Regions from separate parts of the Homo sapiens genome. Here all the other regions are linked to region 4. Evidence: promoter capture Hi-C in human tissues and cell types (Jung and others, 2019). All regions are on one chromosome and are shown on one strand. Each heading gives the region's core, a stretch centred on a gene start or on the middle of the fragment in contact. The rest is flanking DNA. Distances are from core to core; before and after follow the strand shown. Region 1 has its middle 44 kb from the start of LRRC30. Region 2 overlaps PTPRM (protein tyrosine phosphatase receptor type M). Region 3 overlaps PTPRM (protein tyrosine phosphatase receptor type M). Region 4 holds the start of PTPRM (protein tyrosine phosphatase receptor type M). Region 5 overlaps PTPRM (protein tyrosine phosphatase receptor type M). Region 6 overlaps PTPRM (protein tyrosine phosphatase receptor type M). Region 7 overlaps LAMA1 (laminin subunit alpha 1).

Region 1 (3,371 bases), core at 114-2,613, 380 kb before region 4:
CAAAGTGCTGGGATTACAGGTGTGAGCCATGGCACCTGGCCAGGAATAGGAACCTTTACTACTTTGCATATCAATCTTTTCCTAAGCACCCATGACTGTGCCTGGAATATAGTTGGTTCTCAATATTTTTAAAAATAGAAATGAATAAACCGATAAAAAAGAAATATCATGCATAACTGCCACAATTGTTTCAAAAGAAATAGACCATTCAATCCAGCAATCCCACTACTGGGTATCTCCTCAAAGGAAAAAAAGTCACTATATGAAAAAGACAGATGCACATGCATGTTTGTAGCAGCACAATTTGTAGTCATAAACATATGAAACCAATCTAAGTGCCCATCAATCAATGAAGAGATAAAGAAAATGAGGTATATATACACAATGGAATACTACTCAGCCAGGAAAAGGAATGAAATAATGTTTTCTGTAGCAACTTGGATGGAGCTGGAGGCCATTATTCTAAGTGAAGTAACTCAGGAATAGAAAACCAAATATTGTTACGTTCTTACTCATAAGTAGGAGCTAAGCTATGAGGACGCAGAGTCATAATAATGATATAATGGACTTCAGGGACTTAGCGAGGGGAAGGTTGGGGCTGGTAAGGGATAATAGTCTACATATTCGGTACAATGTACACTGCTCAGGTGATGGGTGCAGTAAAATCTCAGAAACCACCACTAAAAAACTGATCCATGTAACCAAAAACCACCTGTACTCCCAAAACGATTGAAATTAAACAAAGAAATAGAAAGGAAAAAAATATTCCATCAATGCAAAGAAGGCAAGAAATGAGAGAAAAATAAATAACAACAACGAACAAACAGGATGAACAAATAAAAAGCACAAATAATATGGTAGAAATAAATCCAAATTAAACACCAATTATAATTCATATTAATGTGCTAAAAGTTCCAGCAAAATGACAATGATTTTAGAGAGAAATTACTAAAAGTAAACAGTTATAAGTTGTTTATTTGTATTTTATTTATTTTTGAGACGGAGTCTTGCTCTATTGCCCAGGCTGGAGTGCAATGGCACAATCTTGGCTTACTGCAAACTCTGCCTCCCAGGTTCAAGCAATTCTCCTGCCTCAGCCTCCCAAGTAGCTGGGACTACAGGCATGCCCCACTATGCCCAGCTAATTCTTTTTTTTTTTTAAGTAGAGACGGAGTTTCACCATGTTGGCCAGGGTGGCCTCGAACTCCTGACCTCAGGTGATCCACCGACCTCGGCCTCCCAAAGTGCTGAAATTACAGGTGTCAGCCACCATGCTTGGCTGCAGGAACTATTTTTTAAAAGCATCTAAAATATACAGGATCCAGAAAGGTTGAAAGTAAAACAACAAAAAAAGATAAACCATGTAAACACCAACCAGAAGAAACCTATTAATAGTAGGCACAATAGGCCGGGCAGAGTGGCTCACACCTGTAATCCCAGCACTTTGGGAGGCCGAGGCAGGCGGATCACGAGGTCAGGAGATCGAGACCATCCTGGCTAACATGGTGAAACCCCGTCTCTACTAAAAATACAAAAAATTAGCCGGGCGTGGTGGCGGGTGCCTGTAGTCCCAACTACTTGGGAGGCTGAGGCAGAAGAATGGCATGAACCCGGGCGGCGGAGTTTGCAGTGAGCTGAGATTGTGCCACGGCACTCCAGCCTGTGTGACAGAGCGAGACTCTGTCTCAAAAAAAAAAAAAAAATACTAGGTACAATCGATCTTATGGCAACAAACCCCCCAAAACTGGTAACACAGGGTGCTTTTTTTTTTTTTTTTTTTTTTTTTTTTTTGTGAGACTGAGTTTCTCTCTTGTTGCCCAGGCTGGAGTGCAATGGTGTGATGTTGGCTCACGGCAACCTCTGCCTCCAGGGTTCAAGCGATTCTCCTGTCTCAGCCTCCTGAGTAGCTAGGATACAGGCATGTGCCACTACACCCGGCTAATTTTGTATTTTTAGTGGAGACGGGGTTTCTCCATGTTGGTCAGACTGGTCTCGAACTCCTGACCTCAGATAATCCACCCACCTCAGCTTCCCAAAGTGCTGGGATTACAGGTGTGAGCCACCACGCCCAGCTGACAGGGTGTGGTTTTTTTTTGTTGTTTTTTTGTTTTTTGGTGGGTTTTGTTGGTTTGTTTTTTGAGACGGAGTTTTGCTCTTCACCCAGGCTGGAGTACAGTGGCACGATTTCGGCTCACTACAACCTCCTCTTCCCAGGTTCAAGTGATTCTCCTGCCTCAGCTTCCTGAGTAGCTGGGATTACAGGTGCCCGCCACCATGCCTGGCTAATTTTTTATTTATTTTTTGTATTTTTAGTAGAGACGGGGTTTCACAATGTTGGCCAGACTGGTCTCAAACTCCTGACCTCAGAAGATCCGCCTCAGCCTCCCAAAGTACTGGGATTACAGGCCTGAGCCACTGCGCCTGGCTGACAGGGTGCTTTTTTATGTCTTCTTTTTAAGAATTTTATTTTATTGTAAATTGACAAATTATAATTGTATATATTTGTGGTGCACAAAGTGATGTTATGATTTATGAATACAATATATTCATAATATAACAAATCAAACTAATTAACATATCCATTCCTTCAAATGCTTTCCTTTTTTGTAGTTAGAGGATTTGAAATGTACTGCCTGAGCAACTTTGAAATATACAATACACTATTATTAATTGTATTCACCATGCTGTGTACTGGATCTCCAAGCAAAACATTTCTCCTAAGACTTGATACCCTTTGACCAATATCTCCTCAAGGCCCCCAACCCCAGCCTCTAGTAACCACCATCCTATTCCATTCTGCTTCTAGAAGTCCAAGTGATTTAGATTCCACCTGTAAGTGAAGACATGCATTATTTGTCTTTCTGTCCCTGCCTTTTTGGAAGTTTTTCAAAAAACTAAAAATAGACTAAATAAGAGCCAGAGATCCTACTTCTCGGTATTTATCCAAAATATTGAACTAGGTATGTCGAAGAGATGTCTGCACTGCCATGTTCATTGCAGCATTATTCACAATAGCCAACTTATGGAATCAACCTAAATGTCCATTAGCAGATGAATGGATAAAGATGATATGGTATATAGTGGTATATATGCACAATAGAGTACCATACAGCCTTAAAAAAGAAGGAAATTCTGTCATTTGCTCCAACATGGATGAACGTGAAGGGGGCTTCTTATTGATTTAAGTTCCAGTTAACTAGGAAGATATAACAATTTAAAACTTTTATGCATCTTTTGCAACTTCTACACTATAGCTGTGAATGTATTTTTAAAAGTTGACATAACTAAGAATATATATCTGTCTCAGGAGATGATAAGCATGAAGAATTTGATAATGATAGAGAAGACTTGAACATGACACATTTAATAAT
Region 2 (2,998 bases), core at 435-2,934, 340 kb after region 4:
ATGATCTTCGGGGAGTGGTGTTTTTCACTCACCATAGCTATCGGGAAGTTCACCCAAGTTGTTAGGTACATCATTAATTTGCTCCTTTTTATTGCTGAGTAGTATTTAATACAGTGGATGGACCACAGTGTATTATTTACAAGTTGAAGGACATCTGGGCTGTTTCTGTTGTTTGGCTATTATGTATAAAGCTTCTGTAAATATGATGTGCACAGATTTTTATATGAATGAAAGTTTACATTTCTGTGGGATGAATCTCCAAGAGTGCAATGGTTAGGTTGTATTTTAAGACTTACCATCATGAGTCATGGTTCCCCGGTGAGATAGTTTCATTCTGTGTGTAAATGGAGGTCAAAATAACATTCATGTGGATCTTTTAAATGATAGCCTGACAACTGACACTTTTAGTCAATTAATCAGATTAAGAAAATTGATAACCCTTTTACTGGTTCTTTCTTTCTTTCCTTTTTTTTATTTTTTTTTATTTTGTTGAGACTGAGTTTTGCTCTTGTTGCCCAGGCTGGAGTGCAATGGCACAATCTCGGCTCACTGCAACCTCCGCCTCCCAGATTCAAGCGATTCTCCTGTGTCAGCCTCCTGAGTAGCTGGGATTACAGGCGTATGCCACCACGTCCACCTAATTTTTGTATTTTTAGTAGAGTTGGGGTTTCACCATATTGGCCAGCTAGTCTCAAACTCCCGACCTCAGGTGATCTGCCTGCCTCGGCCTCCCAAAGTGCTGGGTTTATAGGCCTGAGCCACCGCGCCCAGCCCTGGTTCTTTCTTTTTTGCCTTAATTTCTCTGAAGTGGCTCCACCATCTTAAAAAACTCCGCCATTCTTAGAACCTCCAGGCATGTAGGCCTTTTCCTCTTCTCTTGCTTCTCCAATTATCAAGGAAGAGCTAACGCCCTCTTGATTTTGCCACTGTGGACATTTTTATATTATTTTCCTCTTGATTCATAGCTTTATTGTCTGATTTTCAGTTAGCATATTCTCTTCACTGCATTATTAATAGGCTATCTTTCCTGGTGTCTCTGTCCTGAAGTGGAGTCTTCTGCAGCCTGGCCACAGCTGACCTTTGTGGCGGTAGGTCCCAATTCTCCCCTTGAAGGCCATGGTCATGACCACCTCAGGGCCTTCACATGTGCCCAGGACTGAGCCTGGTCCTCTTCACACTGTTAGCTCCTTCTCATCCTGTAGCTATTGGCACAGATTTCACCTCCTCATGGGAGGTCCTCCATGTGTATATTCTTATAGTACACTGCACTCTTCTTTCATTACACTTACTGTATTTTTTTTCACTTGTGTAAATCTTACTACCCCACATGGTCCAGTGTGGTCAGAGAGTTACTTTCAGAACCTTCAGAAAAGGTTTAGATCACCTAAAGCAATCTGAATCTTAACGTTGTCTCTTGAGGGAAAACAACCACAATCCAAATGTGTGTATGGCAGTGGGTTTAACATACAGTGCAACCTTAAAAGTCTTCTTTAGACTTTGTTTCATGTTCAGGATCTCTCACAAGCTCAACCCTGGCTTTGGGTGGGGAATCCTTTCTATCTGCTGAAACTGTTGGAGAGGTAACCCCAAAGCCTCTTCTATCTTGGTGTCCCCATCTTCCACCCAAGCAGCTTACCCACCAACAAGTTGCCGTCTGTGCCAACTCACTATCCTGTGAGCTTCCTTGCTTTTCCTACAGTGTATGTGTCATCCCCCGCAACCCCATGAAGTATCCTTTCACTATGGGTTTTCTAAGTTGGGGTTCTGTCTAACGCATTCACTACCTATTGACCTCCCTGAAGACTGGGGTGGGGTCTTGCCTATCTTTGTAGTCTAGAACCTGGAACATTGACTAGCAGATGTTACGTACATGAATGAATGAATTGGTGAAAGAATAAACGAAATTATGTGTCTTATATATAGGAGATACTTGGTAAAAGTAAGACAAAATGAATAAATAATGTAAATCTTTCTTAATTTTCCAGGTGATTTTTGAAGTGATAACTTCTGGACATCAAGGCTATCTCGCTATCGATGAGGTGAAGGTGTTAGGACATCCATGTAGTAAGTTGTCTTTATTTGTAAATATTCGGGTACATCATTGGGGGCATGTTTACATTATGAATGAAGAGAAGGGATGAAAACCTGTGAAGAGGTCATCTTGCCAAGACAGTTCCCTGACAGGCCTGTATTGTTGGTTTGCCAGCCCAGAAATCCAAAAGCATGTACTTTGTGTAAATGCCATGGTTTGTATAAGTCTTTTAAAATTTGGTTCAGGAATGGGGAATCAAGGAATTCTTTGGCATGCTCAGACATCTTTGCAAAGAACCTGTTTATTTGTTGCCGTGGTCTTTAGAATTCGCTTTTCAGTAGTAGCACAAAGTTAAATATTGAGAATCTGTGCGTTTTGTTTATAAGTCCAGTATGTTTTTGGCACAGTTCCTTAGTATTTATCACATGGTTTCAGGTGATATAGCTGCAAACAGGCCTGGGATCTGTCAAATAAAAGACACCTACCTAAACCACCTGGGGACCCCAGAAATGGCCTGCTCTTCATCTTTTAAAAATTAATACTTTAAAAAAGTACAATAGGTGATAAACATACAATTTTTAAAATTTCTACTATGAACAACTAACAGTTTGTCATATTTGTATGTGAACCTTTTTCCTTAAATAAAATAGTACAAATTGCTAGATCTGTTTCTCCCCAAACCCTGCCCCCCAGGGGCCACCACAGTGGTGAGCTGGTTGTTGCACCTGTTATGGTTTCTAGTCTGCACACAGCAACAGACTGTAGCTGCTTGAAGCAGAAAAGGCATCCTGTTGATAGAGAATTGGAGGGCAGTGGTATTCCTGAGAACACTAGTGGTCTAGACTCAGATGATGAGCAGGCCCCCAAAGTGAGGCTACGCAAGCAGCCACAGCAACCACTATGGCAGGGGAGCCAGCTGCGAGGACAAGGGGAGCTGGCGCTGTGTCTCTGTGCACCTTACCCTTG
Region 3 (3,037 bases), core at 410-2,909, 470 kb after region 4:
CATAGTTTTACATCTATTCATATAAAAAATATTTTTAAAAGAGAAGGACAAATGACAACTTAGAGAAAAAATTTAAAATCTGAAGTAAAAATAACTTCAGTCTATTATAGGGTCTTAAAAATCAATTAAAAAATGAATACTATAATATAAAACTGGGCAAAGGATTATAACAGGCAATTTGTGAAAACAGAGATAAAAATACTTATTAAACATATTTTAAAAGTCAGTACCAGCTCTAAGCACAGATGTAACTATACATATGTACTATACATACACTGTATGTATCATGACTATACACTATATGTATAGACACTATACAGTCATGTGTCACTCAACAATAAGGATATACTCTGAGAATGTGTCTTTCACCATTTCATGGTTGTGCAAACATCGTAGAGTGCACAGACACAAACCTAGATGGTAGAGCCAACTACACACCCAGGGTATATGGTGTGGCCCATTGCTCCTAGGCTACAAACCTGCACAGCATGTGACTATACTGAATACTGAAGGCAACTGTAACACAATGGTATCTATTTGTGTAGAAAAGGTACAGTAAAAATGCGGTATTGTAATCTTATGGGACCACTGTCTTATACACAGTTTGTCATTGACCAAAATACCATTCTCTGGGGCATCACTGTATAGATTTGTTAACGTCTATCAAACCGAAAAGTTTGTTTTTAAATGATAGTACCTGAATTATGGACTGATAACCTTTTACTAGTTATTGTAACAAATTTCTAACTTCCTAACATGAACTTTATAACTTAAGGCAACAGAAATTTATTCTCACACAGCCTGCAGAAGTCTGAAATCAAGGTGTTGGCAGGGCCGTGCTCCTTTCAGAAGCTTTAGGGGAGATTCCATTCCTTGCTTCTTCTAGCTTCTGGTGGTTCTTGCCACGTGCTGGTTCATTGGTTTCATCACTCCAGTCTCTGCCTCCATCTTCATGTGGCCTTCACTTCATTTGGTTTTCAAATCTCCCTTGTGTATCTCCAGAAAGGTACAGATTATTGGATTTAAGGTCAACCCATGTAATCTAGGATGATCTCTTCATCTCTAGATCTTTACATTAATTACCTGTGTAAAGTTTTTTTTTTTTCCGAACTAGGTCACATTCACAGGTTTTGAGACACAGACTTATCTTTTGGGGAACCACTACTCAGCCAACCCTCTGACCCCAAAACATGGTCCTCCAGCCCATGTGTAAAATACGTTCACCCTATCCCAACATCTAAAAGTCTCAACCCACTATAGTGTCAAATCTAAGTCCAAAATCCCATTTAAATATCTTCAACTCAAAAGTACCAAGTTTCATCATCTAAATCATCTGAATCAGATATGTCTGAGCCTCTGGGTGTGATCCATCTGTGGGCAAAATCTCCATTCATCTGTAGACCTGTGAAACTAAAAAAAAAGTTATCTGCTTCTAAAATACAGTGATGGGACAAGCATAGGATAGACATTCTCATTCCACAAAAGAGAAACTGGAAGGAATAAAGGGGCCACAAGACCCAAGCTAGTTTGAAATCCAGCAGATCAAACTCCATTATATTTCAGAGCCTAAGAATAATACTCTGTGGCCCAGTGCTCCACTCTGGGCTCACAGTTCTGCCGGCTTCTGCTTCTGGGCTCAAGGCTCTCCCCTAGGGATTGTTTTCCTTTTCCTTGAACAATAGTATATATTTTCAGCCAAGTGGCTCTATCAGCCTGTTTTCTTCCTGTAGAATTCCGGAAGTCTAACAGCCTTCCTTCATCTCATCCTGTCTCTGTCCTCATTCTGTCCAAGCTGGTAGTGTTTGTGCTGATACAACATTTTCATAAGCCTAGTGGGTCTCCTGTGTATGTTAGAGGATCCAGGTCATTAGACAAGAGAGGCCTCCATGGAATTTTCAAGGATAACCCCATTCTTATTCCTGGCTTCTGCTGACATGGCTGATTGGATCCATGAGTCACACACATAATCCCCTTAGCAAAGGGCTGTCCAGCCATTCCCTTGACCCTCTCTCCAGAGCACCTTTCCCCACAGTGGACAGCCTAATTTTAATATCCTTTGCAATCTGGATAGCCGAGAATCTTCCAAACTATCAAATGCTGATGTCTTTGGCTTAATAGTTTCTCAATTCGTCTCTTTTCCACTTCCATTTTATTATAAGCAGCAATGAGAAACCAGGCTGCATCTTCAAAATTTGGCTTGGAAATTTCAGCTAAATTGAATAAAAAGTTTAATTCTTAGATTTATTCTATCTGTGAAGAAAAATAACCTGCAAATCATGCAGAAAAAATATAATCATCCCTCAGTATCCAGGGGGGATTAGTTCCAAGACTGCCCCCCTCCTCCCCACCAGGACACCAAAATCTGCAGCTACTCAAGTCCCTGATATAAAGTGGTGTGCCATGTGCACACCCTCCCATAGCCTTTAAGCCATCTCTAGATTGTATATATTACCCAATACAATGTAAATGCTATGTAAATAGTTCTTATACTATATTATTTTTTATTTGTATTATTTTTATTGTTTTTTTCCCCCAATATTTTTGGACCGAGGTTGGTTGAATCCGCAGATGCAGAAATTGCAGATACGGAGGGCTGACTGTACCTATAAAAAGAGGACAGATCCCATGTTACGTGTTCTCTCCACAAAAGAAATAAACACAAACTGGAGGGGTACAAGGAAACTTTTGGAGATGACAGACATGTTTATTACCTTGATTGTGGTACAGGAGCACATGGATATATGCAAATTCATCACATTGTATACATTAAATATGCACAGTATTTTGTATCTCGATTATTTTTTAACAACCCTGTTTTTTAAAAATTGAGGTTCAAGGTGAATAAGGAAATAAGCTACTTGAAATGATTTTATAATACTGACATATTTATTATGCCTCAGTGTATATCTTACTGAGTATCTTAGAGCACCTATGCCTCAGTAAGAATGAGGTGTCAAAATGGAGTAAACACTCCAAATATTATTGAAATACAACAAAGAAGGATAGTTTCAGGCGGAGTAGCCACATCATGCTGGAG
Region 4 (3,185 bases), core at 380-2,879:
AGAACACAAGTACATCAAAATGGAAAGCCCAGGTTGCAGATTTGACCATCCTCACTTGCTGATCTTGAAGACATTGCTTCCTTTCTGAGATTTCAATGTTCATTTCACAATTAAAGATAAGGTTCCATAAGCACATAGTTGGGAGAAGTGGCAGGACAATGTAAGCTCATATTAACAAGCAAATGATTAATATAGAGACTTCTAAAGAGCAGGTCTGGTAAGTATCTAGTAAGTGGACTTCCTGAAGTAAGAGGAGTGTTGGTTGCCACACTAAAGGCAAGTCTTCTAGTCCCCAAATTTGCCTTGGGAGGATGACAGCTGTATCTTTCTTGGTTCTGGTGTACAGTGGAGAACAGGGTCAAGATGAGTGTGGAATCCATTTATTTTTTTACGTGTTTATAAGCACTAGAAAGCAGTGAGCACTAAGCAGAGGACCCCTCTTGCGGAAAAAGTGCAGGAGAGCTCCTGGGTGCCTCTGTATCACCGGTTTGCCTTCTAGCCAGAATCATTGCTAGAACCCTGTCACTCAGTTACTTTGGTTCCTAATTTAACCTCTTCCCAAGCCTTCTATTGCGTTCAGTTAGCTAGGCCAGGAGCTTACAGCTGTCTGGTTGGTGCTGGCTCAATGTGCTTATTCCCTGGAAGATAGAAGGATCACTTACAAAAAAATTTACAATTAAAATAAAAAAATTATTTTTTGCTGAAGCATTGTAAGGTTTTTTTAATTCACTCAGACCCAAAATCGTAAAACTAAAATATTTCAAGACATTACTTGATTCACCCCCCACTTCTCTTTCTCCCCTGTTTCTCAGCACTTTGCACCAGATACAGAAACCACGGGTTATGTCCAAACCCTGGTTTTGGTGTGACCACCGCCTTCCGTGTACTGCCTGCGGCTCGCTTCGGGCCCACACGGGACACCGAGGCATGATGAGGACGCAGAACAGCAGAAGCGCGCCCTGCTTCCCGGGCGCCAGTGCTCGGGGCCAGCGGCGTGTACCCGGCGGGCCCGGCCGGGAGCGGGCTGGCGATCGCGGGGCTCGGCGCTCCCGGCTCCCGCGCCATCTCCCGGCGCCCGCCAACTTCGCTCCGCCCGCGGCGTAGAGAAGCTCGCAGCCCTCCGGAGCCTCAGCGATCTCCTGGCTCGCTTTTCCCGCAGCCGCCGAGCAGCGCAGGCCCGGCGACTCCGGGTGCAGCTGGCCCTGTGCGGTGACATCGCCGTCCGGCGCCAGGCTCGAAGCCGCCTGGCCGCGCCCGCGGGGTCGCAGGCCGCTGGTCCCGCCCGGCCGCGCTCACAAACTACTCGCGGCTCGTGACCCGGGACAAACTTCTGGCGGCGGCGCAGCCTCTTCCACAGTCACCCTCCCCAGAGCCAGCTACCAAAATAGAAGACGCGGCCGGGGCGAGGAGGTGGGCGGGGGGAGCCCGGTGGCCGCTCCTCCCCGCGCGGCTGACGCCCGCTTCGGCGGCGGTAGTGGCTGTGGCCGCGGGGCCGCCCCCAGCCGAGCTCCCGGAGGCGCTCGGGCGCGGGCCGGCGGGGCACGGGCGCTCACGCCCTCTAGCGGGCCGCGGCGGCGCCGGGCGGCCGTGACGTGAGCGCTCCCTTCAGCCGGCCTGCGGGGCACCGCCAGTCAGTCGGGGAGCAAGAGCCCCGCGCGCAGCCGGCGCGGGCTCGGTCATCGGCGCGCCGCCGCCCGGGGCTGGGCTTGGGGCTGCCTGTGGAGAGGCGGCGGGCGGAACGCGCGCGGCCACGGCCACGGCCACCGCCACGGCCACGGCCGGCAGCTCGGGTCCCGGGTCCCGGGCAGGGGAAGGGGAGAGGCGGCGAGCTCAGCAACCGGAACCGAGGGAAGATTTTGGCTCCGCGGGCTCGCCCTCCGCTCCCTCTGCCAGCGGCGCCAGACGCCGAGTGGGGCCAGGGACAGGGGAGGAGGACCCAGGACCCTGTGCCCGCGCCCCTGGAGCCGCTGGAGTTCGGACTTCTGCAACTGTTGGCACTTTGGGGGCTTGGCTTAGCGCTCTGCTGTTTACCCGTCTCTCCTCGCTGCCTCGGAACCAAAGCTCCCGGCCCCCTCCGCCCTCGCGCGCCCACCCACCGCCGCCGGGGAGCGGCCCGGCCCGCACTCAGCACCATGAGGGGACTTGGGACTTGCCTGGCGACTTTGGCCGGACTTTTGCTAACTGCGGCGGGCGAGACGTTCTCAGGTAAGCGGGACCGCCTCTGCCGCCCCCGAGGCGCGCGGGCCGGCGCGGGACGCCCGGGACGCCGACAGCTCCCTGGTGGTAGAGCCCTAAGGCTGGCGTCGGGGCCGGGCGGGGGGCGCGGCGGGCCGGACACCGCTTCTGCCTGTGAGCCGGGCGCTGGGCGAGGGGCCGTGGGGCTGGCAGGCACCCAGTCCTCGGGCGGGCGGAGCGGACGGACCCCGAGGGCGAGCTCCCCAGCCGGGACTGCCAGCTCGGCCGCCGTCCTTCCGCGGCCTGGGCTAGTGCTCAAGGTTGGGCGGCTTGCACTCTTGAGTCCCTGGCCGGCTGCAAAAGGAACAGCAGAAAACTTTGCTTGAAGTTCCCAGTTGCAGCCGCCGGGCCGCCTGGCGTAGGCGCTGCGCGGTCCCCGCCGACCCCGAGCAGCGGCCGGGCCCAGGCCGCTGGTGTTCGGCTGCGCCCGCAGCGATCGCCGGGAACTGGCGGCCGCTCCGGCGGCGGCGATCTCCCGGTGCCCTGCCCTCCCTGTCGCCCCCTGCCCGGCGCGGCTGGCGACCCCGGGAGGTCCCCGCGGTCGTGCAGCGTCTGCGGAGAGGCTGGGGGGAGTTCCTCGCCGGTCCCAGCGGTAGGGCTTGGCGGCCGCGGAGGGAAGCGGGCAGGTCCCCAGGCCCTGGCCACGGCCCTGCGCCCCGCTGGGCTCCCCCTCCCCACCCTCGTCCCCCTAGCGGAGCGCCGCGGCCAGCTGCAACTTGTTCATCCAGCCCGGCTGCCCGGGGGTCCCAGGTGGGAAGGAGAGGCACTGGCGGTGTGCGAGCAAGCGTGTGAGTGTGTGCGCGTGTGTGCCTGCACGCGCGCGCGGGGGCGTTCTAAGCCCAGAGGAACCCCTCACGGAGAGGATCTGTGGATCGGAGTCGGGGGTCCGGCGTGGGGGCGAACCCGGCACGCTGTCACAGGGGTTTACAACCAGGATGACCTTTATTACC
Region 5 (3,142 bases), core at 550-3,049, 500 kb after region 4:
GGCTTAAGTAAGATAGCATTTAATTTTTCCTAATGACAAGTTTGGAAGTAGGAAGGTCAGGGCTGGTATGGTAGTTCAGTGATATCAGAGACCCTGGCTCCTCCTTCATCATTGCTTTGAATTCTTAACATTTAAGTGTCTCATGGTTCACCATGGCTGCCTGAGCTCCAAACATCATATCCTCCATCCAGCTAATAGGAAATAAGAAGGACCAAAGATGGTGAGCCCCTGCCTTTTAAGAACACCTCTCAGAAACTATTTTGGACATTTCATCTTATATGCCATTCATCAGAACTTAGGCACATGGCCACATCCATCTGCAGAAAATAATGGAAACTTTCATCTTTATTCTGGGTAGCCAAATGCCTAGCCAAGATTTAGGGATTTATTATCCAGGAAGAAGAGGAGACCAGGTGGTGGGGACAACTGGGAATATCTGTGACCTTTGGGATTGACCTGAGCCTTTATCTTTCTTCTCTCTCATGTTTTCTTTTGTCTTCTTTTCTAAATAGATCCCATGCGAGGCCCAAGAAAACTAGAAGTAGTGGAGGTCAAATCTCGGCAAATCACTATCCGCTGGGAGCCATTTGGATATAATGTAACTCGTTGCCACAGTTATAATCTCACTGTCCACTACTGTTACCAAGTTGGAGGACAAGAACAAGTGCGAGAAGAAGTAAGCTGGGATACAGAAAACTCACACCCTCAACACACGATCACTAACCTGTCACCATACACCAATGTCAGTGTGAAACTGATCCTCATGAACCCAGAGGGCCGGAAGGAAAGCCAAGAACTCATAGTGCAGACAGATGAAGACCGTGAGTACCTTTGAATGATATGTTTGTGTAAAACATGTTCTTTCAAAAAACAACTTTTGTTTCGAGATCTTTGCTGTGCAGATGGAAGAAAGAACTACTTATTTTGTTGAACAACACAAATGTGTATCTGTACTCTGTATTCTTAAGCGCTGATTGAAAGAGGGAAAAGGGAGTAGAGATATAGAAATGTCATTCTTTATTACTCATACAGTTACTTTTCTATATATAATCATTCCATATTGCTCTCAATAGTTCTTCAAGTTTTATTTCATTGGGCTGAAAAATTGTTGTTTTGGGTATTAGATTATTTATATAAAATCATTGGACTGAAAAATTGTTGTTTTGGGTATTAGATTATTTATATAAAATGTTTACCTAAATATATTTAAATGGCATTCTGAAACATTTTTCATAGTTCAGATAAAATTTCAGCACTAAATAGGGGCTGCCCTTGCTTTTCAACACAGTCTTGAGAAACTGTAAGTTGGTGGTCATGAAACAGGTCATTTTTCTCCACAGGAACAATGTTGAAACCGGATGTTACTTTAATAAACAACTACTTTACAAATAAACCATGCATGTCACCAGTAACGCATCAAAAAAGCAAATATACAGGAAACCTCCATAGTAATTTAAAACAGTAAAATTATGCCTTGAATCTCAATGCGTGGATATAAATGTTTCTTTACACAGATGACACAGGGAACCCTTGTGTGTAATGACATATTCATATAGTACATAAAATACAATGGTAGTATATCATAAATTTGACCTAAAAATCATTTTTCCGGCATCAAAATGAATGACAAAGAATGTAGGAAGACCATTAAACGAATGAACTGACTATTCCTAAGAAAAATAGTTGTTTAGCTTTTTGTTTCTTCATGTAACTGATAATGTAATTTTGACCATTGATTAAATTGTGAGTTGAATGTTTAGACTACTTTATCGTTTCATTTAAAGAGCTAAAAAAGTATTTTTGAGTGTTTCTACCTACCCAGCACCTGCGTATTTTTGTAGAAGAAAAACATAGAAATAGCTGGAGTAGATGAGGAACTCACTGCACATCCTTTCTTTCCTCTTTTATTGTCCCTCAAGTCCTGCTTGTGTTGGTTCCTCTCAAGCAGTTGTTTGAGAGGGAGTCTAAGTTTGATGGAAGCCACTCAGGCAAGGCTGAGACCAGAAGCTCTATTTCTGTTTCTTCCAACTCTCTCTCATCTCCCAGAAGAGGAGAAGATGGTGTCCACATTGTCATCAAGTTATGGCTGGCTCCTTCCTGCCTTACATTTCTCTATTGACTCTGGTCCTAACATCTGTTGTTTCTACTTCCAAAGTTTTAGATTGTTCTTTTCTGTCAATTTCCATTGGCTGTATTCAAATCCTTATTATTTTATGCTGAAATTTCTATAATTGTTTCTACCTTTTCTTTGTGGTTCCAGCCTTTTTCTATTCTAATGTCCCCCTACTCACTCACTCACTAATCTTAAAAATGTATTTTCATCTTGGCTGTCTCTCTACAAAAGTCTTGAGTGGCTCTTCACTTAATCTTCATTCCAGTGCCTTGGCTGTCAAGGTCTTCTGTATTCTTGGCTCATATTCTAGGAGTAATAACTTCTCCTTCACAGCATCTTGTTCTGCAAAGCCATCCCTGAGTGCTGGTCCCTGTGCCTGCTCTGTGCATCCTGGGCTTCCCATCGTTGCCTGATTGTTCTCCTTGGCCAGTCGGGGCCTCTCCTGGCCGCTTCTCAAGCTCGCCTACTCTGCTACCAGCTGAAGCTCTCCTCACATTTCAGGTCCTTCACATAGCTGTCTCCAGCTCTTCAGTCTGTGTTATTCACATCCCTCTGACCTTAATTGTACTTCATAAGATCCTTAACTCTCTGACCCTCAATTTCCTGATCTGAGAAGTGAGAATAATAACAATTCTTAGATACATTAGGGATAGAAGAAATTTATGTGGAGAGCTGGTTGTAGGCTGTCAGAAAGGGGCCTTTCTTAGTATTGTAATGATTCATAGCCACTCATGATTCTTCTTTGCTCCCTCATTATGTTATTTGTATGTATTTTTTTCTTTTTATTGTAAACTACTTGACAAGAAGTACTGTCTGTTTTTCTTCTATAGCAATAGGCGTGATATTGAGTAAGTAATAAACACCCCAAAATACCTTAGGTCTTTAAATGAAATAATAAAGTATTGTTGATAAGCATTTAGTTCATGTTTTAATAAACAATAATGGTTACATCAATGAGAGAAATAAAATGCAGTCACTTCCAGATATATATTGCTAAAGCATGAACCTATTGAACACTATGGGTTTCAA
Region 6 (3,425 bases), core at 787-3,286, 490 kb after region 4:
TGGCACCCTATAGCCTGGGTGTGGAGTAGGCTCTACTGTGTAGGTTTGGGTAAGTGCACTCTATGATGTTCACACAATGAAATCACCTAACAATCCATTTCTCAGAATGTATCTCTGTTTTTGGGAGATGCATGACTGTATTTTTGAAAATCTGCCAGGTTATTCTTCTAAGTGAAGGAATACTATTCTAGGATTTATGCCTAAGAATATAACAGCTGGATTGTATTCTAAGGTTAGCTTTACAAGATGATGCCAACTTGTGTTCCATAGTGGCTGTACCAATCCCACTCTCATTAATGATGTATAACACATTGCATTGATCTACATTCTGCCAACAATCAGTATTACCAGACTTTCTAATTTTTGTGAATCTGATTGGTATAGAATGGAATTTACTTTGACTCTAATGTGCATTTCTCAGATTAGTATTAAGCTTGAGCATATTTTCACGTTTGTGGTCTATAATTTTCCTCTTCTTCAAAAGTCCTGTTCTTTTACCAACTTTTCTTTTGAGTTGTCAGCTTTTTCTTGTGATTGGTGGAAGTTCTGTATATAATCAATATCTCTCGTTTGTTTAGTGGTTGCCAATGTCTTCTATTCTGTGCTTTGCCTTTTACTTTTCTACTAAATACCTCTTTATATCATTTGTCTTTATTGTGTTTGGTTGTTTTCCCTTCTTTACAATAATAAGGTTTTAGCTTAGGTTTTCACTTTCCTTATGATACATTTTGATAAATATGTTCTTAATTTTAGTGTAGCATAAATTATCAAGCTTTTCATTGATAGTTGGTGCTTAAGAACTATTTCTTTGCCCTGTAATCAGAAAAAATAATCCCCTACATTCTTTAATTTAAAAAATTAAATTTGGGTTTTTGTGCTTCTAATTGAGTCAGAATTGATTTTTGTATATGATACAGAGTAGGAATCCACTTCTCCTAGCACCACTTGTGTTTCCCCCAGGAATCAGAAACACCACCTCTATCATATAGAACATCAGGATTTCTGTTGTGCTCCATGTCTGTTCTTTCAGCAACACCACACTGTGTAGTTACTGTAGCTTTTAAATAACTCTTGGCATCTGATAGAACAAATTTTCCTACCTCATTCTTCCTACGGAGTGTTCTGTTTGGGGACCTTTGCACGTCTTTATTTACTTTAGAATCAATTTATCAAGTTCCTTAAAACTCTAATTAGGTTTTAATTGAAATTGTAGTGATTCTATAGATTAGCTTGGGGAGAACTGACACCTTTACCACATTGAGTCTGCCCATTCATAAACATGGTATAACTCCAATTATTTTGGTCCTCACTAATGTCTTTCAATGAGGTTTTGGATTTTTATCTGTTATTGGTGTCTTGTAAGATTTATTCCTGGGCTCCTTATATCATTTGATCTTGTTGTAAATGAAAAAAATTCAGTAATGTTTCAGTTTGATAATATACAAAAAATGCAGAGGAGTTCAAAATTAATCCCCTATTTGGTCACCTTGCTGACATTTGCTATTTTTGTATAACTTGTAGGTCCTGCTTGTTTGCCAAGCCTGTCACATTGTCTGTGTATAATTAAAGTGCTGTTTTTTCTTGTTTCATTCTTACACTTTTCATTTCTTACTGTACTGAATGGAACCTCCAGGAAAATGTTATAGTGAAACAGCTTAGATTTATTTTTTGTAAACAGATTATGGCACGATGTTGATTTTACCTTTAATTCTCTGGGCATTTTAATAGACAATATTTTATTTACATGTATTGTCATTACTAGTATATACTAGTAGTAATATATACTAGTAGTAGTAATATATATATATATATATATATATTACTACTACTAGTGGTAGACTTCTGTGTACCACTTTTCTGTTTGCTTTCTGGTTTTTCCTGTTTTTCTACATTTCCCCTCACCCCTTGCCTTTTTTCTTTTCTTTTGTTTTTTTCCCATAATTGACTGAAATAACTTTTTTTCTTTAGATGAGTTACTTGTTACTGAAGGTATTATCCTATGGCTATCTGTATAGTGATTACCCTAGAGAGTTTGCCTTGCATACTTAAAGTTTATAGTTGATATCTTAAACTTCCCTTCCCAGTGATGGAAAGATCTTACAACACTGTAACTCTGAGCATTGCCCTACCTGTGTGTATGCTCTTGTTGTCGGCAGTCTAATTCTGTATATATAAAAAGCTCTAAAATTAGACAGTATTGTTATTTTACAAACATAAGTTTTTATGTTTTTTTGCTCACCATTTCTTCTAGCATCTCAGACCTTCTTTCAAAACTCATTTTTCTTTTTGAAGGTGATCCTTTATTGCAGGTTCATTGGTAGTAAGTTCACTCAGGTACAATTCTTTGAAATTAGCTTTATTTTGTCTTGATCCTTGAATGATAGTTTTGCTACGTATATAGTTCTAAGTTGACATATTCATATTTTCTCTTTGTACTTTGAATATTTTGTTCCCTTGTTTTTTGCCTTCCACTGTTGTTGTCTAGAACTCTTTGTTCAATCTGCCATTACTTTGTAGGTGATGTGCTTTTTCTCTCTAGATGCTTTTGAGATCATCTCTTTGATTATTTTGGTGTTGGTGGTTTAACTACATTATGTCTAAATGTGGAATTTAATTTTTCTATCTTTTGTATATGTTATACTTTCTGTATCTTTTGACTGATATCTCTTGTCAATTCTGGAAATTTCTCAGACATTATGTCTTCAGTTAGTGCCTCTCCTCTATTCCCTGTGTTCTACTTCTGGAATGCCAATTAGACATAGATACACCCTCTAATTTTGCCCTCCATCTTCCTTTCTTATTTTCTATTATGTTCCTATTTCTATTTTTCTGTGCTACATTCTAGATAATTTCCTCTGATCCATGCACTACTTCACTAATTCTGTCTTAAGCTGTGTCCAATCTTGCTGTCTAGTTTTATACAGTACATAATTAATGTCCTATCCATTGAGGTTTTTGTTTTATTTCAACAGTGTTTTTATTTCTAAAAGTTACGTTAGCTGTTTTTAAAATTGGTCATTTTCAGTGACGTATTACATGTTCATTTTTAGAATTACATTTTTAATTTTAGAAGTGGCACGCAAATTTTATATTCTGAATCTGGTAATTTGAGTGATGTGAATCTGTTGTTTCTTATCTCTTTTGACTCTGTCAGGGCATCTTGTTTTCTGTTATTTTTGTTAATCTTTACTAGTGAGCTTATATTTGGGTGGGCTTTATTTGTGAAAGTAGGAGGCCTATATTTATGTATCAGTGTGTTTATAGAAGATTTGTATTTGTGTTTGCTGGAATCAGGAGATGGTACTGACTGCAGATACTTTACACACTGTTATTCGTATGAGATTACCTTGAGAACATCATATTTGGCTTCCCTGCCCCTGGCCCATGGCTTAATCTTTGGATGCCGGTGCTGATATAGACAACTA
Region 7 (3,256 bases), core at 224-2,723, 500 kb before region 4:
TGCAATAAAAATCTTTAAAGATTTTATCTTAAGAATGTGAAATTTCCCTATTTTCTTGTTGACCTTGTCGATGTGCTTAATAAATACTTTATATTTGAATGATATAATAATAAACCTCACTCAATACTGGTCAATTTTTCAGAAATTTGGGGGAAAAAACAACTGACATCTGAATTAATGAGGTTTTACAAAACCCAGCACACAAGCAGCTCTTGTCTAAAAGTTTGCATAAAACAAAGGCTCCTCTGTGATTATGTTCCCACAACAAAGTGCTACTTCCTAATTAAACCTACACATAAAATAAAGCACTGCTCCAAAAGGCAGCTTTATTTTCAATGCCATAGGGAACTTCCCTTTTTTACAAAACAGATCTTATCTTCTAAAAGACTATTATACATTTTTACTCACAAATCTGACCCTCACTCCCACTGAAATGTTCTCCGGCTTTAAAAGTTTTTTAAGGAAAATAGGAGATAACTGATTTATTTTCCTGCTTCTTGATCAAAAAAAAAAAAAAAAACACGTTAGGTAGCACCCAATTCTATCAGCCACTGCAAAAGCATGAAGGAAGTGTCAATACCCTGCTGGATTCATAGGGGAGAGGACCCTACTGAGCAGGCAAACAGAACAAGAGGGAAAGGGCTAGAATCTGAACACTCCCAACATCAAGAGGGAATTGCAAGAGCTCTTGCCAGTCTCCCCATAAAGTCAGAACAAAGGAAAACAATAATTGGAGACCAAAGACAAGGAGACAGCGTGGCATGGTGTAGAGGGAACCAGAGGTCCTGGTTTCCAGGCCTAGCTTGAGCACCTGCAGCCGTAGACTCTGGGCAAGCCTGTGACCTGCTTACTCTGTGCCGTGATTTTTGTACCTGCAAAGAGGCGATCACTCGCATTCCAGAACTGCTGGGAAAAGCAGATGAAATAACATGGACGAGGAAAAAAATGCTATAACCCATATCTATAAATTCCTATATATGTACCTGTTAATAACATTCCTCTTTCAAAAGATGCTCAAAACAAAATTAACCATAAATTTGTCATATAAACCTCAAACATGATTGATACTCACTGTATTACTTCATTGGTATACATACGAAATGAACCTTTTTTCACTGAAAGCTCAAGTTATTACCCATAACAGAAAAAGCACCAAAATGTCAGGCCTGAGGATTCTTAGGCAAATGATGCGTAAGCCATATAGAAACTATTAATGCAGCTTTAACAATTATTAATCATGAGTTTCAGTTATACTGGGAAATGTTCATGCTATACAATTACATAAAACATTAGAACACAAATTTATATATCACATAATCTGTCTCAGCTGGAGGGTCAGAGTGGTGCAATGATGCAGAGCTCAGGCTCTTAAGCTTCAGTGAGTCCTACCCTTGAGCAAGCCTCTTAAACTCTCTAAGTCTCAGTTTCGTCATCTGTCAAAAGGGGATAATAACAGGAGCCAAGTCACAGGCGATTATGAGAATTCAATGACATAATCCTGATCAAGTGCATAGCACAATGTCTGGCACAGTAAGTATGTAATACATGATAGTATTGTTGTAGCATTATTAAATGCATAGAATTGTAGGCAAATGACAAAGTAAATATCCCAAGGGATCAATTAGCGATTGTTACAGAGCGAAGAGATGATGTGTTTCTGCCTGTTTACACTTATCTTATCTTCCATTTTTCTATGATGATTCCATCTTAATTTCCTAATCAGAAAAAACAGAATAATTATTGACTTATGAATTTCTCAAAATCTGCATAACTGCACTCCTTAATCCTGTTAGCTAACTGTAATTAGATTCTATTAAGGCCTGGTTTAACATTTCCCTTGGTGATATCTGAAGATCTTTGGGAACCTAAAGTAATTTGTGTATTAGAAATATGACAGAGGGAAAGAAAACTCATGTTTATTAAATGTGAGGAGTTTGTTAGGTACTCTACATCCTTCAAGCTATCACATTTCACTTTGTATATATCACCCTACCACACTTCATGCATCTCCACCACATCACACCACCAAAACCCAATAGTTAATACATAAATGGAACTGCTTCTGTATTTCCTCCATCCCTGTCCTGAAGGTCCCAGGACCAAGCTGGTGCCCTGATGCAGTCTCTCGGCTGAGAACCAAGAATACCTAGTTTGTAATGTATTAGACAGCAGTCCATGATTTCTCCAGGAGAATTCTAAAATTTGCATTTTCATTCCAAAGTTATTCTAAAAAACTTAATATGAGCATATTTAGGATGTGGCTGACCACCATAATAACAAAATCCTGCCCCAGGATGTCGAGGGCTGCTCTGTCTCTGTGTTTCTGTTGGTATACTGGTGCAAGTGACCACCTACTGAGAAGAAGTGTTTGCGCTGGTTGCTAAGCACCTGCCAGCCCAGCTTTGGATGCTGAGGCTGGGACGCTGCAAATCGATGCTCCCTGACGGCGACACTAGTGGGAGGCTGGAGGGCTGGAGGGAGGCAGGACTTCTCCCATGTCTACTTCCGGGTCCTATCAGCCTTGCCCAGCAGCGGCCCTCTGCCTTGGGCTGTAGCAGCTGACTCCAGCCTCCAGCTTTCCAGGACCCCCAGAAGAGCATTCTGAAAGATAGGAGACTCTCTTCCCAGGCTCTAGGTGCTATAACCACACCCTCCTGCGTTGCTGCCTCCTCCACCACTACTACCCCCAAGTTACCTTCCTGCTCCCTCTCCCAGCTCTCCCACACTGTCAAACCAATTCCTCACACTAAATTTGTGCCTTTAAATGACTGGTGTGGCTTCCATATTCCTGACTGACCCTGGCTGACATAATACACCAAATATTTCACAGTGTATTAACTTTTTTAAGTTGTAGAAAAATATACGTAACATAAAAACCACGACTTTAGCCATGTTTAAGTGTAGAATTCAGTGGCATTAAGTATATTCACACTGTTGTGCAATGATCACTACCATCTATCTCCAGAACTTCCGAACCTAAACTGTGCACCCATTAAACAACAACTCCCCATTCTCTCTCCTCCCAGCTCCTGGCAACCACCCCGCTCCACTTTCTGTCTCTATGAACTGACTTCTCCAGGTACTTCATCCAAATTGATTCATATAATATTTCTTCTTTTGTGTGTGGCTTATTTCATTTAGCGTAATGTTTCCAGGGTACATACATGCTGTGGTATGTGTCAAAATTTCATTCCTTTTTAAGGCTAAGATTCTACTGTATGCACATACCATGTTTTGACTATCCATTCACCTGTTG

What was found. Contacts are between HindIII fragments. The study calls those that stand out against the background at their distance.
Region 1: a fragment that was not itself captured here is called in contact with the fragment with the promoter of PTPRM in region 4 in 2 of the 25 tissues and cell types used here (heart left ventricle and mesendoderm cells).
Region 2: a fragment that was not itself captured here is called in contact with the fragment with the promoter of PTPRM in region 4 in 2 of the 25 tissues and cell types used here (dorsolateral prefrontal cortex and spleen).
Region 3: a fragment that was not itself captured here is called in contact with the fragment with the promoter of PTPRM in region 4 in 1 of the 25 tissues and cell types used here (mesenchymal stem cells).
Region 5: a contact is called between a fragment that was not itself captured here and the fragment with the promoter of PTPRM in region 4, in 2 of the 25 tissues and cell types used here (lymphoblastoid cells and mesenchymal stem cells).
Region 6: a fragment that was not itself captured here is called in contact with the fragment with the promoter of PTPRM in region 4 in 1 of the 25 tissues and cell types used here (mesenchymal stem cells).
Region 7: a fragment that was not itself captured here is called in contact with the fragment with the promoter of PTPRM in region 4 in 2 of the 25 tissues and cell types used here (lymphoblastoid cells and thymus).

The regions. Positions count from the first base shown.
Region 1 is chr18:7,185,505-7,188,875 of GRCh38, forward strand. No RefSeq gene overlaps it. Among named protein-coding and RNA genes, the nearest start is that of LRRC30, 44 kb to the right of the region's middle. The HindIII fragment of the contact is 6,611 bases long and covers 1-3,371 here.
Region 2 is chr18:7,904,520-7,907,517 of GRCh38, forward strand. It overlaps PTPRM (protein tyrosine phosphatase receptor type M), which reads left to right. Exons shown (of 33, transcript NM_001105244.2): 4 at 1,986-2,064. Among named protein-coding and RNA genes, the nearest start is that of PTPRM, 340 kb to the left of the region's middle. The HindIII fragment of the contact is 4,661 bases long and covers 1-2,998 here.
Region 3 is chr18:8,033,054-8,036,090 of GRCh38, forward strand. The region is part of intron 7 of PTPRM (protein tyrosine phosphatase receptor type M); the gene reads left to right. Among named protein-coding and RNA genes, the nearest start is that of PTPRM, 470 kb to the left of the region's middle. The HindIII fragment of the contact is 3,709 bases long and covers 1-3,037 here.
Region 4 is chr18:7,565,687-7,568,871 of GRCh38, forward strand. It overlaps PTPRM (protein tyrosine phosphatase receptor type M), which reads left to right and starts at 1,630. Exons shown (of 33, transcript NM_001105244.2): 1 at 1,630-2,205. The coding sequence starts at 2,133. RefSeq lists a silencer at 1,311-1,680. The HindIII fragment of the contact is 7,623 bases long and covers 1-3,185 here.
Region 5 is chr18:8,069,174-8,072,315 of GRCh38, forward strand. It overlaps PTPRM (protein tyrosine phosphatase receptor type M), which reads left to right. Exons shown (of 33, transcript NM_001105244.2): 8 at 513-821. Among named protein-coding and RNA genes, the nearest start is that of PTPRM, 500 kb to the left of the region's middle. The HindIII fragment of the contact is 4,913 bases long and covers 1-3,142 here.
Region 6 is chr18:8,052,503-8,055,927 of GRCh38, forward strand. All of the region lies in intron 7 of PTPRM (protein tyrosine phosphatase receptor type M), which reads left to right. Among named protein-coding and RNA genes, the nearest start is that of PTPRM, 490 kb to the left of the region's middle. The HindIII fragment of the contact is 4,024 bases long and covers 25-3,425 here.
Region 7 is chr18:7,070,402-7,073,657 of GRCh38, forward strand. All of the region lies in intron 3 of LAMA1 (laminin subunit alpha 1), which reads right to left. Among named protein-coding and RNA genes, the nearest start is that of LAMA1, 46 kb to the right of the region's middle. The HindIII fragment of the contact is 8,767 bases long and covers 1-3,256 here.